Linked DNA regions of Homo sapiens: regions 2 and 3 are each linked to region 1. Evidence: promoter capture Hi-C in human tissues and cell types (Jung and others, 2019). All regions are on one chromosome and are shown on one strand. Each heading gives the region's core, a stretch centred on a gene start or on the middle of the fragment in contact. The rest is flanking DNA. Distances are from core to core; before and after follow the strand shown. Region 1 holds the start of MMP19 (matrix metallopeptidase 19). Region 2 overlaps ZC3H10 (zinc finger CCCH-type containing 10). Region 3 overlaps CNPY2 (canopy FGF signaling regulator 2).

Region 1 (2,700 bases), core at 119-2,618:
CTCTCTTTCTTTCTTCCTTTCTTTCTTTTTTGGTAGAGATGGGGTCTCATTATGTTGCCCAGGTTGCTGTCAAACTTCTGGGCTCAAGCAATCCCCCTGCCTGGATCTCCCAAAGTGCTGGGATTACAGGCGTGAGCCACCATGCCCAGCCCCTCTACTGCAATTTCTAACCTTCTCCTACTCTGTGGAGGTGTCTGGCTCCCCTGCTCTGGAGAGCTTTCCACTAGTGCTCCCACCTGACAGCCTGTCCTCCTTCAGCCTTCTCCCTTCCTGAATGGATACCCGTCCCAGCCCAGCTTGCCCTGGAGCAATTTCATCCATCTATGGACTGTCATAGGGCCTAGGGGCTTTTCAAGGGACCTGAACATATCTGAGAGCAGAAAGAAAAATAATCCATTACATCAACATATAAAACTATAAAATAGAAATAAATAAGTACCAAATTGAAGGCCCACAAAAGGTAATAGCATGTCAACAACTCAACTCAGTTTTACATATCATTACACTTTATGTGGACTATAACTAAATATTAGTATTTGAGATATGATGTGGGTAGAGACTCCAAAGGAATGCTTATGGCCTAGGAAGATCCAATGCCTGTATTCCTCATCTGTGAATCCCCATCTCACCCCATGCCCCACCACCATAATAATGATCGCCACCCATCTCTAAATCCCTGGCATGGTTTAGGGTCAGGAGGAGGTGGGCCTGGGGAGAGGAAGGGATGAGAAGGAAGAAGACCTTGAGACCTTAGCCCTAAAGGCATACACCTCATAGCTTCTCACCTCAGAGCCTCGGTGATATCTTCTGGCTTGAAGTTATTAGATCCTTCTAGAGGCTTCTGTAGGTACCCATATTGTGACAGGTAGTCCTATGATGGGAGTGGAGGTAAGCAGGTTAAAAGGGGGTTAGTCTCAGAGTAAAGCTTCTAAGTGACCTAACAGATCCATCAGGAGAGGAGGGACCTGATATGGAAGCACTAATGGAGAAGCACCTTAGAGAAGGGGCTCAGGTGGAACAAGGGGAAGCAGCGGGAGATGGGCAGGGTAGACCATGGGGCAGAGAGAGCAAGGGAAAGGCAGGCAGGCTGAAGGTCAGGAGGGAGGCTTCGATGGGGCTGTGGAGCAGTAACCCCTGTCCCTCCGCTGGCCCAGGTCTCTTTCTTGGGGGACTTACCACAGGCGCCACCTCTGCAAGCCCCAGGACCCGGCCTGAGACTGTCATGGGGAGTAGGAAGCCCAGCCACAGCTGCTGGCAGTTCATGGTCCCACCAGACGAGAGCTCCAGAGGCTGTCCGTGCCTCTGACCTGAGATTTCTGGGAGCCTTGGGGGAGCAGTGCTAGGCAGAGGGGCTCTTACCCCCAGTTCTTTTTACTCTCCAGCCTCTAGTCCTCTTTATAACAGCTGAGGGGAATTTGGGGGAGAGGCAGAGGGAGGTGACTCAGCCAAGAGATATGTTGCAATTCACCATTAACCCTTGCCCTACCAGAGAGCGGAAGCCAAAGAGAGTTCCCAATCGCTTCCCTCAGAGTCCTCTGCTGGAGATGGAAAAACTTCATACTGCCCTAGGGTGAGCATCCAGGCAGGACGAGAACCAGAATCTCTGGAGAGACTAGAGATAGGGATCATGGACATCCCCTGGAATTAGACATCAATGTGCCTCAGGGACCCTGGGCCAGCAAATCACTCCGCCCCTACCTTTGAGTCTCCCTAGAATAAGCTGAGAGGTAGGAAACAGCTGAGGTAGCTTGGGTTTCAGGTGAAGGAGTCAAGCGTGAAGTCTCAGTTTCTTTGTACCCAAGACCAAGTTGGGAATATAGATGCTCCTGCAACCTACTTATGTCTGCTTTAATAAAAAGTCATTATTTCAAGAATCTAATGAGCCTGGAATATGTGGGTGTAGGTGGGACTTAACAAGGGCACAAATAAGTAAAGGGCCCAGAGCCTACCCTCAGGGAGCTTACGGATCCAGTGAGGCAGATCCAGACACCTGGGAAGAGGGGAGCCAGCGTGCCAGGCCAGAGGTGATTCACCCTAAGGGGCTTGGGGCTGGGGGGAGGTTTGCTGAGAAGTCAGGCTTTGAGATGGGCTTTGAAGGCCAGCTAAGAATTGATGGGGTAAGGCCAGGCATGGTGGCTCGCTCCTGTAATCCTAGCACTTTGAAAGGCTGAGGTGGGTGAATCACTTGAGATCAAGAGTTCGAAACCAGCCTGACCAACATGGTGAAACCTTGTTTCTACTAAAAATACAAAAATTAGCCAGGTATGGTGGCGGGCGCCTGTAATCCCAGCTACTCGGCAGGCTGAGGCAGGAGAATCACGTGAACCCAGGAGGCAGAGGTTGCAGTGAGCTGAGATCACACCATTGCACTCCAGCCTGGGCAACAGAGCAAAAACTCCATCTCAAAAAAAAAAAGAATTGATAGGGTAAAAGGATACTGAGAGACAGACAGTGCAGGTCTTGAGTAAAAGTGCAGAGCTGAGAGACTGCTGTACTCAGTAAGTCAGAAGGGTCACGACTGCTTCATTCACCACTGAAGCCCGAGTGCCTACCCCAGGCCACCTCCATGCTTTCGAGGCTGTGCTTAATAAATCACTGTCAAAGAATGACCAGGGTGGGAAAGTGGTTGGGAGACAGAATTTGGAGAGGGCCTTAAATGCTATGCAAGGAAAAGAAGAAAAACTTACATTTAAAAATACC
Region 2 (2,700 bases), core at 110-2,609, 280 kb after region 1:
AGATTTGGGAAATTTTAGACATTGTATGTCTTGTATGTATTTACTCCAGCTGAAGACCACCAAGAATACACCTGGTAATTGAGCAAGTTGGGTTTAATGCTCATTGCAGTGAGGGGGAGGGCTCACCATTGGGGATAACGTGGTGTGTCTCAGCATGAGGGTGTTAGGAACGACTTAGAGAACTTAGACTTTGGTTAAGTGATTTTGGGGAAGATTCAAGAAAGTGGGTGTTCTTTTGGATTGGGTGCTGTTAAGGGAATCCAGGATAATTGGGTAGCTTGTCTAGAAGAAGGGCAGACAAGTGAACCTAAGCACAGTCGATGATGAAGTCACTCACTAGCTGGGAAAGGGGATGTTTGCTGTTTTGTGGTTTGCACACTGACCTTGTTTTGTGCTTAAACAAAATTGTGTAGTGATTTTGTTTTTTGTCTCACTTCATCGCAGTCACTGAGTGACCTTGTCTGATGCTGGTGTTTTGTGAGATTGTTTGTGTCCAAGAGAACTCATTGGCTACCTGTGAGCACCAGGTCAGCCCTAACAGCTCTGAAGCCTGGCTGTGTCAGGCCAGTTCCCAGATTACAGGAGCTACTTTCCTCTCTCTCACCTGCTAAGTCATCACAGATAAGAGGAAAATTACGGGTCAGTTAATCGTAGCATTTTTTCCATGCAAATGGCTCTGGTTAAAAAATAATGAGAAAAAAATAGTAGCATTTGGTAGAATCAAACTGAACACTTGTACTTAGTGTTGGTTAGCGCATTTATGTTAGAGAAATCTCTGTTCTCTAGTGATAAGCCCAAGGGCTATGTTTTATTGTAAAAAGAAAAAACCCAACTCGGGTAAACATGTAAAAAACCCATTTATCAACAGTAACACAGGAAGAGCTAAATAATATTCAAAGTGTCTGTAACTTGAATTGACTAAAACACTGGAGCACTCTCACACTAAAAAATTGCTTAGATCTTGAACTAGTTTGAGGAACAATGTTAGAGATTTATATTAGCAATAATTCACATGAGAACAAACTGGGACTTCCAGTTGGCTGCAAAAAAATAGAATCTTAGCCCTCAAGATGTCCATTTATAAATATTTATTAAGAGCCTGCTATGTTCTAGGCATCTTTCTAGGAGCTCCATAAGGGTAGTAGAACCTTGGTAATAGATTACAAATACAGCAGTTCTATGTTCTGCCTAAGTGTAACCACTTAGTAGTGTGTTGTTCTAAATGTAATTTTTAAAGAGGGCCATTGACAAACCAGTGTGTTGCTAGAAAAAAAAGGCTGGCAAGAGAAAGCTTCAAATAGAAGTCTTCAAATATTTGAAGGGCTGCCCAGTGGAGGAAGATCCTGTTTGCTACACAGGAAGTAAAAAGGGATTTCTAGAATAATGGCTAACTTTTTTTTTTTTTTTTTTTTTGAGACGGAGTCTAGCTGTGTGGCCCAGGCTTCAGTGCAGTGGCACGATCTCTGCTCACTGCAAACTCTGCCTCCAGGGTTTACGCCATTCTGCTGCCTCAGCCTCCAGAGTAGCTGGGACTATAGGTGCCCAGCTAATTTTCTTTTTGTATTTTTAGTAGAGACGGGGTTTCACCGTGTTAGCCAGGACGGTCTCCATATCCTGACCTCGTGATCCGCCCACCTCGGCCTCCCAAAGTGCTGGGATTACAGGCGTTGAGCCACCGCACCCAGCCGGCTAGCATTTGTTGACTGCTTAATATAAGCCAAGGCTCTGTGCTAGGCACTTTACATGCAACATCTCATTGACACAATGGGTAATATTATTGTACCCATTTTACAGAGGAGAAAGCAGGCTTAAAAAGTAACCTGCCCAGGGTTCTGCAAGTAAGGAATGGGGCCAGGAATCTATTCAGGCAGTCTCACTCCAGACGACAAAAGAAAGTTCTAATGATATAGCCATCCAACAAAGCGATCACTACTTGGCAGTAATTTTTTTTTTTTTTTTTTGAGACGGAGTATCACTCTGTTGCCCAGGCTGGAGTGTAGTGGCGTGATCTCGGCCCACTGCAGCCTCCGCCTCTCGGGTTCAAGTGATTCTCCTGCCTCAGCCTCCCAAGTAGAGTAACTGGGATTACAGGTACATGCCACCATGCTCGGCTAATTTTTGTATTTTTAGTAGAGACGGGGTTTCGCCATGTTGGCCAGGCTGGTCTTGAACTCCTGACCTCAGGTGATCCAACTGCCTCGGCCTTCCAAAGTGCTGGGATTACAGGCATGAGCCACCGCGACTGGCTTGGCAGTAACTTTTGAGGAATAAAGAATACAGAAGGAGTTTCCTCAAATCTTGTTGCCCTTCCCATCTTTGTGAGCTGAGATCAGAGTACCGTATCTCACCCTCTGCCTCTTGGAGGTGATTATGGTTTACATATAAATGCAGATTGCAAGTCCAGGAAGTTTACTCTCTCTCCTCCTGTAGGCCTCATCCTGTAAGACACTTCCTCTAACAAATGGGCATCCCTTCCTGTTGTCCACTTACTGCTTATCACCACCAGGTGGCACCTGGGCAGCAGAATTGTCAGTGGGCGGGGACCCACCCTGTTTACTTGTGTTGGTAACTGCATTGCAGCTGCTGATCCTGTGGCTCCTGGGCCCCAGCTGGGACAAGAACTTCCTGAGGATGAAGTTTTATCCCCTATATAATTTCTGATGATCTGGATGAGGTGAGGAAGGGAGAAGTTTGGAAAAG
Region 3 (2,700 bases), core at 104-2,603, 470 kb after region 1:
AATTTATTTATTTAAAACTATGAATAATTTGTTTTCTAAATTAAAACAGTTTTAAGTTTCCAGAAGAGAACTCTCTTTATTGTATTTGAGACAGGGTCTCACTCTGTTGCCTAGGCTAGAGTGCAGTAGTGCAATCACAGCTCAGTGCAGCCTCAGCCTCCTGGGTTCGAGAGATCTTGCCACCTTGGCCTCCAGAGTCGCTGGAACCACAGGTGCACACCATTATGCCGGCTAATTTTTGTATTTTTTGTAGCAATGGGGTCTCACTATATTGCCTAGGCTGGTCTCAAACTCCTGGACTCGAGTGATCATGATCCTTCCACCTTGGCCTCCCAAAGTGTTGGGATTATGGGCACGAGCCACCGCATTTGGCTTGAAGAGTACTCTCATTTATACTTCTGATAAGCTTTCTGATGGAAAAGAAAGGCATTTTTAGGCACGAAGCACGAAATGGACAGCACCTTGGGTATACTTTCAGGGACATGAAAAAATGTAATTATTACTTATATGCATCATAGAAGAAAAAATAAGCTTTATAATAGTTGGTTTGGAAAACTAGAGCGAACACAGCATTTCTTATGGATGATGGGAGAAGATGGAATTAACACCAGGCTGATATTAGTTGACAACAAATATCAGAGTGCTTGCTCTGTGCTCTAGTTAATTTGTCAGATTTCACAGGGATTTTTGGTACAAGAAAGCTTTGTGGAATATATGCATTCTATGCGCCAGGCTTAGTGCAAGGTATTATTAGAGAAAAAAGACTTAAAATAGAAGGTACTCTATAGCTATATTAGATCAGGTCAGCACTTGGGAAAGTTAGCTTATAGACCCAGTTTTGCCATTAAATACAGAACTTCATAAAGTTCTATGGCTTCTCTGGGCCTCAGCTTCTTCATCAATAAAATGGGCAGAGGTGAACCAGACGACCTCTAAGGTTCCTTTAGATTCTAAAATGATGTAATTTTTAAAACCTTTGAAATGTTTATTCAGGTCTTCTCTCCTTGAGGTGTTCTTGGGACCGGAGATATTCCATTTGAAACCCTGAGACAACCATACCTCAAGCTCAGAGTGCTTAAGAATTTTCTGCCAGGTGCGGTGGCTCACACCAGTAATCCCAGCATTTGGGGAGGCCAAGGCGGGCGGATCATGAGGTCAGGAGATCGAGACCATCCTGGCTAACACGGTGAAACCCTGCCTCTACTAAAAATACAAAAAAATTAGCCAGTGCAGGCCGGGCGCGGTGGCTCACGCCTGTAATCCCAGCAGTTTGGGAGGCCAAGGCGGGCGGATCACGAAGTCAGGAGATCGAGACCATCCTGGCTAACATGGTGAAACCCCGTCTCTACTAAAAATACAAAAAATTAGCCGGGCGTGGTGGCGGGTGCCTATAGTCCCAGCTACTTGGGAGGCTGAGGCAGGAGAATGGTGTGAACCCGGGAGGCGAAGCTTGCAGTAAGCCGAGATCGCGCCACTGTACTCCAGCCTGGGCGATAGAGCGAGACTCTGTCTCACAAAAAAAAAAAAAAAAAAATTAGCCGGTGTGGTGGCGGGCGCCTGTAGTCCCAGCTACTCGGGAGGCTGAGTCAGGATAATGGCGTGAACCTGGGAGGCAGAGCTTGTAGTGAGCCGAGATCGCGCCACTGTACTCCAGCCTAGGCGACAGAGCGGGACTCCATCTCAGAAAAAAAAAGAAAAAAAGAATTTCCCAAAAGAAGGTATCCTTTAGGTTTTCATCCCTATGCCCCAGTCTGGAATCTCTACACACAGAATTGTGGACAGACTTATAGTCCAGATTGACAATGGCTAGTGATAGATACACTTTATTGTTGCCACTGGCATCAAATTTAAAAGCTTAGGCTGGCAAGCAAGGCCTCTCATTAAACAACCTTCCTTACCTCGTCTGTCCCTATCCGATAAAGCCCTTACTTTTCAGCTGAGTTGGTCACATCCATTTTCCCCTTCCTGTCTCTGTTCTTGCTGGTCCCTCCATCTGGATGGGCAGGGAAGGAAGAATAATGCATATCCGTTATTTCCTTCAAGACCAAGCCCTGTCTTACTTTATGTTTCAACAGCCATGAACACAAGGGATTTCTAGAATTCTACACTACCATACACTATGTTCCCCTGCTTCCTCATGGAGGTTCCTCTATTCTCCACAATTAGACTCTAAAGACGTGGTATTGAGTGGGCACTGACTGAAAGCTTATCTAGTTTATGAGTGGAGTGGAATCTCAGAAGGTAGAAGAATTAAAGGTTCAGGCCTCTCCTACCTTTATCCTGTATCAATCCCAAAACTCTTCTTTCTCCTCCATTATCTTTCCTGTCTATATAACTCCTTATCTTCAAGCTTAATGTAAGGGCAATTCCAGGCATGAAAAGACAACACAGTTTGTACTTTTGGTTTCATATTTTTTCAGTTAATTTCAGTAAAAACATAATATATAAAAGGCATTGCCACCATTTTCCCCTCCTGGGGGTGATCCATCAAGCCAGTGTGGGCTGCTCCAGTGGTTCATAGCTCATCATGCGATATGTGCAGGGCATGGTCACAAAGATCTGCAAATGGCAAACAATTTAAAGGAATATGCCATTCTCATACTGATATCTGCCAGTATCAAGAAAATTTCCCAGACCAAGCTGACACAAACACACACCAACCACCATTCTGCAGAATATATGCTTATAAATGATAAAACA

Evidence for each region. The method cuts DNA at HindIII sites, captures the fragments that hold promoters and counts their contacts. A contact is called where the count stands out against the background at its distance.
Region 2: a contact is called between a fragment that was not itself captured here and the fragment with the promoter of MMP19 in region 1, in 1 of the 25 tissues and cell types used here (liver).
Region 3: a fragment that was not itself captured here is called in contact with the fragment with the promoter of MMP19 in region 1 in 1 of the 25 tissues and cell types used here (dorsolateral prefrontal cortex).

Annotation. Positions count from the first base shown.
Region 1 is chr12:55,841,568-55,844,267 of GRCh38, forward strand. MMP19 (matrix metallopeptidase 19) reads right to left here and starts at 1,369. Exons shown (of 9, transcript NM_002429.6): 1 at 1,177-1,369; 2 at 786-871. The coding sequence starts at 1,263. The HindIII fragment of the contact is 8,931 bases long and covers 1-2,700 here.
Region 2 is chr12:56,123,843-56,126,542 of GRCh38, forward strand. ZC3H10 (zinc finger CCCH-type containing 10) reads left to right here. Exons shown (of 3, transcript NM_032786.3): 3 at 1-2,700. Among named protein-coding and RNA genes, the nearest start is that of ESYT1, 3.1 kb to the right of the region's middle. RefSeq lists an enhancer at 2,398-2,657. The HindIII fragment of the contact is 4,314 bases long and covers 1-2,700 here.
Region 3 is chr12:56,308,037-56,310,736 of GRCh38, forward strand. CNPY2 (canopy FGF signaling regulator 2) reads right to left here. Exons shown (of 6, transcript NM_014255.7): 6 at 1,808-2,559. The coding sequence ends at 2,516. Among named protein-coding and RNA genes, the nearest start is that of CNPY2-AS1, 2.0 kb to the right of the region's middle. The HindIII fragment of the contact is 3,127 bases long and covers 1-2,700 here.